Regions from separate parts of the Homo sapiens genome. Here all the other regions are linked to region 1. The links are contacts of gene promoters, found by promoter capture Hi-C in blood cells and fetal thymus (Javierre and others, 2016). All regions are on one chromosome and are shown on one strand. The core of a region is centred on a gene start or on the middle of the fragment in contact, and the rest is flanking DNA. Distances in the headings are between cores, read along the strand shown.

Region 1 (3,544 bases), core at 1,045-3,544:
GCAGTAAACCATTTTCTCCTACCACCCTTTCTTTACATGGCTTCCAAGATACCATCAACTCACCCAGCTTTCTACTTATCTTTTTGGCCTTCCTTCTCCATCTGGTTTGCTGCTTTTCCTAGTTTCCTCAAATTCTGAATATTGGAGGAAACTATTTTCCAACTACATTCACTCCCTTGGTGATCTCATCCAGTCTCATGACTTTAAACACCATCTACATGCCAATGACTCCCAAATGATCTATCCAGCCCAGATCTCTGCCCTGACCTGCAGACTCATATGCCTTCCTGCCGCCCCAACATCTCTACTCTAATGGGCATCTCAGACTCAACACACTCAAACCTAAGCTCCCTGTCAAAAAAAAACCAAACCCCTCATCACCTCCCCATTCCTTCCCAACTCAAAAAAGTGGCAACACCAATCTTCTAGTCGTTCAGCCCAAAAATCGTGGCTCCTTTCTTATTCTGGCATTGTCCATCTGTTAGCAAACCTTGTAGTCTCTACCATCTAAATAAATTCAGAATTCAACCACTTCTCATCCACTACCTCTAGATTATCATAATAGGCTCCCAAATGGTCTCCCTGCTTCTGCCATTGTCTCCCCTACCCCAGTCTATTTGGAGAACAGCCAGAGTAACTCAGTTAAACTGTAAATCAGATTGTGTGGACCCTGTGCTCACAACCCTCCACTGGCTCCCCAACTCCTCATCTCCTACCTATTACTCTCCCTAGAGGACACTATGCCCAAGCCATTCTAGGCCCTCTGCACTTGTATTCTCTCTCTCTGAAATGCTCTTCCACAAATATCAGAAGGCTCTCTGCTCCTTCAGACCTTTACTCAAAAGTCACCTTCCCAGTGACTTTGGCCCCCCAGTCTGAAATAAAACACCTCCCCTGCAAATATTTTATTCCCACTTCTCAGATTTATTTTTTCTCTTATTTACTGCAATCTTACAACTACATATTTTATTTATCTATCTTCTTTATTGTTTACCTCTCTCAGAATGAAGGCTGCATGAAAAGAGGGACTTTTTTGGTCTGTTTTGTTTACTATTGTATACCCACTACTAAGAATAGTGATGGACATATACTAAGGCACTCAGTAGGTATTTGTTGAATGAATGAAAAAGGTAGTCATTTCCAAGAGGCAAAGTTTACTCTTTAATGAAAAACTATAACAAACAGTGCTATTTGGCAATATAATCACATTCAATATGCACAGTACACGACCTCTTGAACAATTCTTATCCAATCTTCACATCAGCCCAGGATAGAAGGAAGGCTGGGCAGAGATTATGATGCTGGTTGACAAAGAAGCTGAGTCCAGAGAGAGGAAAAGGAATTGCCAAAACTCACACATCTGGCCAGGACAGTACTGGAAATGCGGATAACTGCTGTCCCTGAAAGAGGCTGGTAAGTGATGGAGTTTAATAGGAATTGGGTTTGAAGGACCTCTGTTGCCAGAAAGCATGAGTATCTCTAAAGGCGAAGCTGAGTCAGAGGTTACTAGAACAGAGGCATCAGCAAAGGATGGGAGAGGTGACGAGGGCGATCTCTAAGTGTACTTGGCCCAGGCCTGAGGAGGGCAGCTGATTCCCCCAGCAACAGAATGCTGTGCCTGAGGCTAACTAGTCATTCAAGTCTGTACATAATCTCCAATGTCAAAACTCAACAAGCAACCTTAAGAGAGACCACTAAGTCTACTGCATGTCTGCAGGGTTTGGCTTCCCTGGACTGTGAGGTCTTCCAGGGAAGCGACCATATTCCTAGATTTATCCCCAGTTTCTAGCAAGGCCTGGAATATAGTAATATTGTAACTCTAATATTTTTGTTCAGAGCAAAAATAAAAAAGAATGAATATGCTCAAACGGGAAACTGTAGCTGAGAGAGCACAGATAGGAGGGGCCTAACATCAACCAGCAATTCTGAAGTAGTAACAGATTAGTTTTCTGGGATGCAGCAGGACGAATGGCCCTCGCACTAAAAGGTTGCTGTCAGCTCTTCTTCAGAAGGGGTTAACAAGCAAATGGTGACTGGCAACAAAAGGGCAGGGGTTAAACGGGGCAGTGGTTAAACGAGACCGTAGTGCTGGCGCCAGGATGGAGACGCCGACTGGCTGAGACTCAAGGCGGGGCAGATAGGTAGGCGCGGCACACTTCCTTCCCTAACAATGTGACTAAGGTAGGTCAACGTCACATCCGGTTTAGTGGGCGGGAGCGGGGAAAACAAAAGGAGACGAAGGACGCATGCGTTTGGTGAGTCCCGGATTCTGGTGGGTTCTTCCGCTCAGGCTGGGTGAAGCGCTTCCGGGTCGCCGCCGGCAGCAGCCTCCCGGCGCGGTAAGTACAGACGCAAGGCTGCAACCGTCTCCTTGCCCCTTCATTCCTTTTTCCCCCAGAGAAACCCATTTCCTTTGACCCGACTCCCCAGGAGCTCCATATTGAGAGTCCTTAACCCTTAAAGAGCTCCAGCTCATTGGCCGCTTCCTCGAGACTAAGCCCCACCCCGTCACACAAGGTCCGTCATTCATTGGTGTCACTTCCTGTCACCCAGCATTTCTTTCAGTTAATTGGTCCTACCCAGGCCCCGCTTTTTTCGCGTTTAGCAACCCTATAAGGCCAAATTTCTGTCTGAGACCCGCCCTGCTTTCTTTCTGTTGGTCAACTGCATGGTCATTATCGTAATGAGCAAAGAAAGGGCGGTGGCTTTGCGACGGTGGGTTGGGCTTTCGGAGCCGAGATCGCTGGTCTGTCAGTACTTCTTGGACATGAGGGTGTTTACCGTCGTGCCTAATTACGCGGGTTGGGAATCTGAGATACAGGGAAGGGCAGCGGCTGGCCCTGGGTCGGTCAGATAAATTAAGACAAAAGCAGGACCAGGCATCGATTATTTTCTCCTGCTCATCCCTTTCACGGAGGAATTCTAAGCCCCGACACACTGTATGACCTAAAGCCAGTCTCTGCCTGTCGCTGGGCCTCAGTTCGCCTGTCCTAAGTTTAATTCAGATTATCTGGCACTCCTGGTCGGCTCCCTCAGCCGCTCAAAGCTGATTGTACCCTTATAATGTTAGTTCATCCATTCAATCTTCCATCTACTTATTTATCCACTTATTCATGCCTCCTAGAATGTCTTACTGAACCCTGCTTGCATATGCTACAATCCCTCCACCCCGACATTTGGCTGTGATTCATGAGAGGTCGTTAGTGTCCTAAATTTCTGACACTGGGTGGGTGTGGTATGGGCCATCATAAAGGGTCAAAAAGCAGGTTTTAGTGTGTGGAGGAGGTAGGGATAGTTTCAGTAGAACCCTGCTACCTCTAATTTTGTATAATTTCATAATGCCAGTCTGCATTCTGGATTCCTATCCCTACACTTGACTCCCATTCTCATCCCTCCTTGAACAGCCTGCAAACAGCTTTGTTGATCCATTATTTACTTAATTATCAGAATAACTTTGACAGTGGTATAATTGTTATTATCCCCATTTTACAGATGAAGACACTGAGGCTCAGAGAGGTTAAGTGACTCAGCCAAGGTCAAACAG
Region 2 (3,584 bases), core at 365-2,864, 90 kb after region 1:
TTTTTCCCAGATAACTTTGAATTAATTGCTTAGGCGATAGGTGTAGGGGCAGAGGCACATTAAGGTTGATCTTGACCCCCCTCACTGCTTGTGTGACCTTTCTGGACATAGGTTCCCTATCTATAATATGGAGATAACTGCTCTTCAAGTGGATGGGTGGATTAAATAAGAACACATGCAAAGCTTCTAGTACAGTGCTTTTCAGTTCCCCTCCCCTTGTCCAGCCTTAGACCACAGAGTCCTCGTCTTTGACATGGGGAGCTAGCTGCCATCTCCACCCCTAGAGAATTATAGGAAAGGTGAGGCTTTATTTAGATAAAGTAAGGTGTTAGTAATTTGAGCCCAGACCCTCGGGCAGTATAAGAGTCACGTATCCCTAGTTGTCCTTTTCTGACTCAGCTATAGGTTTACTCTGTGACCTCAGTTGGAACAGGATTCTAAAGTGACCTGGCATCTCTGGGCTCTTCCTCTGTGGTGCTGAGAGTTGGTGAGTGGGTGGGAGAGTGCAACATCATGACCCAGAGTTGCTGTGAATTCCGAGGCTGCTTTCTTCTTCCATTATCCCTGTAGCCCTTGGATTGACCCAGGATAGAACTGACTTCAGATGGAAAATTGTAAGGCAGGGGAAAGAGGCCATAGGAGTAAGGAGGCCTACATCTCATAGCCCCACCAGAGATAGCCATTCTGCTCCCCAGATTTCAGTGTTCTGGGATCTCAGGTATGGTTTCCAGGAAGTTCACCCTGTTTTCTACGTTGTTGTCATTGCAGAAAATCGAAAACATCCCTCTTCCCCAGAATGCCTGGTATCTGCACAGAAGGTGCTAGAGGGATCAGAGCTGGAACTGGCGAAGGTACCTATGGAATACCAGACTGGGGAGGCAGGGCAGGGTTGGGGTGATGGTACCTGAGGGACCCTGCAGGGCCTTCTCTTAACCCAAGGGGAGATGATGGGTGCTTTATTTCTGGGGCTCTAGTACGTTGGAGGTAGAACCAGGCAGCCACCTGTCTTGAGACAGAGGCTAATTTAGCCCAAGGATTCTAGGAGCCCATGATCTTATGACAGAGATTATGAAACAAACAATGGTTTACTAGACCATTACTGTGGGCCTCGGTGGAGACCTGGCAGAAATCAGGTCTCATTCGGCTATCACCATATTTTTATTATAGCTCAGTCTTAAGTCATTCCCTCTGCTCTTTCTGGGTGCTGGCCTATAGAGGGTACCTAAAGCTTCACACCCAGGGTTCCATGAGTCCAGGAATTGAGCCATGCAGGAATCTTGGCGCTCAGCTTTTTGTACAGTGTACACTATCCTTAATTAAAAAAAAAAAAAAAAAGTGTTTCCTGGAGCTGTTAAGGATGGTGGCCTGGGATTGCTGAATTCCAGGACTTTTAGAAGAGTCACCGGAATAGCTCAGAGTCCCCAGAACAGCCCAGAATGGGGGCACTGAGAAGAGAGACAGCCCCACTCAGTGACTGCCTCCTGTTTGGCTTCTAGATGACCATGCTGCTCTTATACCACTCTACCATGAGCTCCAAAAGTCCCAGGGACTGGGAACAGTTTGAATATAAAATTCAGGTAAGCCCTTGTGCCTCCATGCCACCTAGCAGGCCTAGCCCATGCTTCACCTCACCTGACTTGTTTTTCTTTGAACAGCAGATACTGGACTTTTTAAAAATACAGTTATAGCAATTATTGCCATTCATCATAGAAAGTCTGGGAAACGTTGAAAAGCATGCAGGAGGAAATAACAGTTGCCGATAAACTCATTCCCAGAGTTTGCTAACTTTTTAAAGGATGTACTTTCAAGTCCTTTTTTATGTGCATATGTTTAACTGTAATGTGTTTTAGGATAATACGTAGAAATTATTCTCTGTTCCTATATGTGTTTCTGTGTGTGTGTGTTTTTTTTCCCCCACAGAACTTTCACTTCATTTATCTCATCCTTTCCTCTGGTAGGGTCATCTGGAAGAGGCCAACATAGTTATATATAAAAGCTTCCTGGCCGGGCGTGGTGGCTCACGCCTATAGTCCCAGCACTTTGGGAGGCCGAGACAGGAGGATTGCTTGAGGCCAGGAGTTCAAGATCAGCCTGGGTAACATAGCGAGACCCTGTCTCAACAAAAAATATTTTTTTTAAAAAAAATGAGCTGGGTGTGGCAGTGTGTGTCTGTAGTTCTAGCTACTTGGGGAGCTGAGGAGGAGGAGTTGACTCCAGGAGTTGGAGGTTATAGTGAGCTATGATTGTGCCACTGTACTCCAGCCTGGGTGACAGAGCAAGATCTTGTTTCTTAACAACAATAACAATAAAAGCAACTTTCTGATTGTGTTACTTTCCTTAACAGTCACTTCACTTGTGGTCAGGAGTTAAGTCAGTCAGGAACTCTGACTTCGGTACATCTTGAGGGGAGGTGGGAGGGAAGGGGACAAGTGGGGTGAACATATCTCTAGTTGAATGTTGTTGGCTGGGTCATAGGACCTCAGCTCTGAGAGGGAGAATGGGATCCAGCAGGCTCCTAGGGCATGAGGGAGCCGGGGACTGGCACTGCCAGGGTGGAGCTCCTGGCAGCCATCCCTTCAGAGGCCTAACACCTAAGTGATGCTCTTTTTCTCCCTGTGGCCCAGGCTGAGTTGGCTGTCATTCTTAAATTTGTGCTGGACCATGAGGACGGGCTAAACCTTAATGAGGACCTAGAGAACTTCCTACAGAAAGGTAAGTAGGTACACACTCCTGAGAATCCCCTCATCTCTGAAATGGGGAATACTAGGATCCTGAGTTGTCAAGTATGGTGGGGGTTTGTTTCTGTCCCCAACACAAGGCAGAGTTGATGCTCAGGAAAAGTGTGTGTAATGGAGTAGGTCGATTTCTGGGCCATGTTGTATCATCTCAGTTCCTATGGAGCTCCTCCTTGCTGCCTGGCAGCAGTTATGTAGGATATTTACAAGTGATCATACCTACTTTTGTTTTTTATTTTTTAAACAATCATTACTCTAGGCTTAGAAGCTGAGAATACAGTCTTTTTATTTTTATTTTTATTTTTTTTTGAGACAGAGTCTCTCTCTGTCGCCCAGGCTGGAGTGTAGTGGTGCGATCTCAGCTCACTGCAATCTCCACTTCCCGTGTTCAAGCAATTCTCCTGCTTAGCCTCCCGAGTAGCTGGGATTACAGGCGCATGCCACCACACCTGGCTAATTTTTGTATTTTTTGTAGAGACGGGGTTTCACCATGTTGATTAGGCTGGTCTCGAACTCCTGACATCAGGTGATCCACCTGCCTCGGCCTCCCAAAGTGTTAGGAATACAGGCATGAGCCACTGCGCCCGGCCCACAGTCTTTTAAAAAATGTTTTTCCCGTCATGTAGTGCATGTTCTAGGTGGAAAGGCAGATACATAAACCAGGAAATAATGATAAGGAATCTAAGTACGGAATATATCAATGGCCTCGGCTGGTACTACAGTAGAAAGAGTGATCGTTCTGCTGGTCTTCTGATGAAGAGGTCAGCTGGTGGATGATAGGAATGTAAGAAGGAGGTCTAGGCGAGTTCTAGCCGTTGAGTTTGATGTTCCTTGTATTCAGGTTCCTCA
Region 3 (3,584 bases), core at 1-2,500, 73 kb after region 1:
CCCTTCCTCCTCTCCTTTCAAGATTTAAATGCTAATGGCGGATTAAAACCTGTAGATACGTTTGGCTTTAGGAGTCTGGTAAGGCCCCCCCGCACCGAGACTTTTTCTCCCTCACTCTTTCTCTGGGTTTTTGTTCAAACATGGACGAGGGGGTGGGGTGGATTCTCCCCCCTCACCTCCCTTTCCTGCGCCATCCTTAAAGGGGAGGGAGAGAAGAGGGAGAGCAAGTAAACATACTCAGAAACAGGCGCTGTGGAGCAGAGCTTGCCAACATCCGGGAGTTGGCGCCTTTCAGAGCAAAGGGTTGCTTTCTTTCCCCCTTGCGTAGATGTCAGCATGTTTTTGTTCAGAGAAGGAAAGCGTGTTTGCCTGCACGTTGAGCTGTAGAGACAGCTCAGGAGAGGGCTTCACCATTTCTGCGTGAGGCCGTGGGTGTGTGCACGGTGGTGGGCAGTGAAAAAAGGTTCATTTTGTCAGCTGATAGGGACCAGGGTGTGTGAATATAGTGGTGGGGGGCCCAGGTCAGTGTGTGTGTGTGTGTGTGTGTGTGTGTGTGTGTGTGTGTGTGTGTGTGTGTGTGTGTGTGTGTGTATGTGTACGCGCCCCAGTACAATACATGGCTGCAGGCCTGGTTGCAGGTCTGGTTCCTGATTGCAGCTCTTTTGCCATCATCCTGATCTGGACCCTCCAGAGAACGGGGAGAAGGGGCAGACATCTGTAAGCCACTTTTGAAGAAACCAGAGAAGCTTGGTTTCCTCTGTAATCCCTCCCTTGTTCCTCTCCAGGGCTTTGGGGTTCTGTGCCAAACTCTAGGCTACAAAGATGGAGTGGTCTGTGTGAAGAGGAGGCTTCAGCCCAAGCTAGTCCCTTTAGATGGACCAAACTGGTTTGCCCCGACCTCAGGAAACTCTTTGGACTTGGACCAGACGGTCTACCCAGGACTCCCCAGGAATTGAGAAAGATTGTTTTTCTCTGTATGGCGTCTCTTGGAGCCACTGGTCCTCTTGCCTTTTATCTTCTCAGAGGCAGGGGATGTACCAGCAAAGTATTTCCTATGCTGTTTTTATAGCTTATTAGCCTAGGGCAAGGTGGCTTGGCCCCTCTGGGTAACCTGCCAGGTGAGATCTCGGTGTTTGCTTGCATGTGCCTCCTGGCCTATCCGTCCTAGAGTTGGAGGAGGAGGAGCCCCAAGATCAGGGTTTTCACTCTTTGGATGTGAGTGTCTCTCAGATGGGGAGTATCTTTCTAAGAAAGGGGTACAGAGCATGGAATTCTTAGGCTACAGGCAGGCAGCGTCTCAGGGTAAGTGGTGGTAAATTTTGCAAGTGAGCACTGGCGCACAGATGGGGCAGCCATTTCCTTTGTGAGCTGTGAGGCTGTAGGCCTTTGGAACTATCAGGTGGAGAAGGGGGTGGGGTTCTGGGAAGGACCCTTTGAGGTGGGAGCTTGTGTGGGCTTTGGGCCCTGAAATTCTGGGAGTGGGAGTTAGCACTAAGAGAATGAGGGTTCAGCAGAAGCAAGGGCCCATGAGCTGAGAGATCGGTATAGTTTAACAACTCTCTGGGACCAAAGGTCACTTTGGTGTTATCTTGAGGTAGGTCTGGTGTTCCCTTGATGGGCAGTAAGTGGCTAAGAGGCAGTCTCAAAGGAGCTGGCACCCAGGCCAAGGGCGGGGTAAGGAGAGCAGTGCTGCTGCAGCTCAGACCCTCTGGCCTTTGGCCTATCACTTGTTCTGTACTTAAAACTGAAGCTTTTTCAGAACAGACTTCAGAGCTCAGCAACTTGACCCTCTGGTCCTGCTTCTTGTGTCTGAGCAGGTGGTTTACATTAGCCTCAGCCCTGGTAGGAAATCATGGCTAGGCTTTAACTCTTTAAGGTCCAGAGAGGGTACAGGCAGAGTGGCTGCGTGTCTCTTTAGTGTCACTTTCCTTATCTTGATATTTATTTTCTGGAAACAGGGGTTACTGTAAATGTGGGAATTTGTCCTGATGTGGGGGAGCTGCATTGTGTCAGTTTGGGAAATGTAAAAAGGATGCAGGGCCTTAAGTTTATAACGCAACTGCTTCTGTGTCCTTGGTTACTTCTTGAGACCAGGGAAAAGAGAGGGTGCCTTACCAGCTCGGTGAGGCCTCTGTTTTAGATTCTGGGGGAATTTCTTTCTCAGAGAATCAGGTAGATGGGAACTCCAAAGGTGCCCTCAGAGGGCCTGGCCTTTTGTTTCTTTGTTTATTGAGTGAGGGTTGTGGGGGGGACGGGGGGTGCCTGATCCAGCTGGGGTGGATCTCAGCAGATCCTTCTGTGAAATGGTTCCAGGCTACAATCGCAAGGATCTGTTTTTCCATCAGCATCACCCAGTGTACTGGGTGGGGCCTGCCTCAGATTTCAGGGGGAGGGTGGGGAGGATGGTACTCTGGCTGGGAGCCCTTGGGTTCCCAGCCAAAGTCTGCTTAAAGCTATAGTCCCAATGTAGAAGACTTAGCTGTGCTCCTGGCTTCAGTCATTCCTTACCCAGAGAAGAGGGAATGGCTGGGGCTCTCCTGAAGCCTCTCTCACCCTGATGTTCTGTCTCTAGGAAAGTACCTCTTTACAGGCTTAGAACTGAAGAGCAGACAAGGTCCTTCAGGAGTTCCTAGTGGTGAATATTGGGTTCCTCGTATTTCTGTGCCTGGGGAACACAGAAAAGAATATTTAGCCTTGACACTCATTTTCTTGAACAGTGGAACTAGTTTTAGACAGGCTCTCCTGGGAGGACCTCAGGGTTGTATGTTTTGCCTCTGAGATGAAGAGGTTGGTTAAACCTCAGGACATTTTTAGTAGCACAGCTGTGAGTCTTTCAAAGGGGGCAAGATCTGCCTACAGTTGCAGATAAAATTTCGAAGTGTTGGGCCTCATCAAAAGGACTGCAAGTCTATAGGCAGCAGTGAGGATGGGGGAGCGGTGATCTCAGCCTCATTCCTTGTGATTTAATAGCTCAGAGGCCTTTTTTTTAAAGAAACCCCAGTTGAGTGTCTGGCTGTTGCCGCCCCACCACAGAGCCAAGTGTGGTCCCTCGAGCTTTAGTCTTGTCAGCCACAGAAAAGCCTTATTGCAGTGCAGTAGTTGGGGCTATCTGCATCCATCCATGCCTGGCCTCAAGGGCTACATAATCTTGCCCATGGATAGGGTATACTTGATGATAATTATCCAAGACTGAGGAACATAAGCCCCTTAGCTTTTCTGCCCTCCTGAGAGCTCTCTTAACCATTTCATTTGCCCTTGCCAAAGCCCAGGTGAATTGGCTCAATTCCAAGACTGATGCTGGTATGACATGTGGAATCATGTTGGATGTTGCAGGGTCAGGAAGCACTTAATTGTAATTAGCATTTAGTTATATTTAGCATTTAATTATTTTCTTCTGTTAGTGCTTCACATATGTTTAATTTTACTCCCTACCCTGCTATAAGCCCCTCAAAGGCAAGGACCATGTCATTGTCTCCCATTTTCCATGTGGCTTCTAGCACAGGATGATCTTTTTTTTTATTATTTTTTTTTGAGACGGAGTCTCGCTCTGTCACCCAAACTGGAGTGCAGTGGTGCGATCTCGG

The links. The method cuts DNA at HindIII sites, captures the fragments that hold promoters and counts their contacts. A CHiCAGO score of 5 or more calls a contact.
Region 2: a fragment that was not itself captured here is called in contact with the fragment with the promoter of ANAPC15 in region 1 in 9 of 17 cell types (total CD8 T cells, naive CD4 T cells, naive CD8 T cells and 6 more); the score reaches 10.2 in total CD8 T cells.
Region 3: a contact is called between a fragment that was not itself captured here and the fragment with the promoter of ANAPC15 in region 1, in 11 of 17 cell types (naive CD4 T cells, total CD8 T cells, non-activated CD4 T cells and 8 more). The highest score is 13.9, in naive CD4 T cells.

The regions. Positions count from the first base shown.
Region 1 is chr11:72,111,445-72,114,988 of GRCh38, reverse strand. It overlaps ANAPC15 (anaphase promoting complex subunit 15), which reads left to right and starts at 2,294. Exons shown (of 6, transcript NM_014042.3): 1 at 2,294-2,339; 2 at 3,493-3,544. RefSeq lists enhancers at 1,411-1,948, 2,256-2,315, 2,416-2,475, 1,949-2,486, 2,646-2,815 and 1 more and a silencer at 2,068-2,285. The HindIII fragment of the contact is 5,139 bases long and covers 1-3,544 here.
Region 2 is chr11:72,020,332-72,023,915 of GRCh38, reverse strand. NUMA1 (nuclear mitotic apparatus protein 1) reads left to right here. Exons shown (of 27, transcript NM_006185.4): 6 at 769-851; 7 at 1,497-1,577; 8 at 2,625-2,712. It overlaps NUMA1-AS1 (NUMA1 antisense RNA 1), which reads right to left. Exons shown (of 4, transcript NR_104178.2): 4 at 2,997-3,584. Among named protein-coding and RNA genes, the nearest start is that of NUMA1-AS1, 7.8 kb to the right of the region's middle. The HindIII fragment of the contact is 768 bases long and covers 1,231-1,998 here.
Region 3 is chr11:72,037,453-72,041,036 of GRCh38, reverse strand. All of the region lies in intron 2 of NUMA1 (nuclear mitotic apparatus protein 1), which reads left to right. Among named protein-coding and RNA genes, the nearest start is that of NUMA1-AS1, 25 kb to the right of the region's middle. RefSeq lists enhancers at 1-244, 725-804. The HindIII fragment of the contact is 1,004 bases long and covers 749-1,752 here.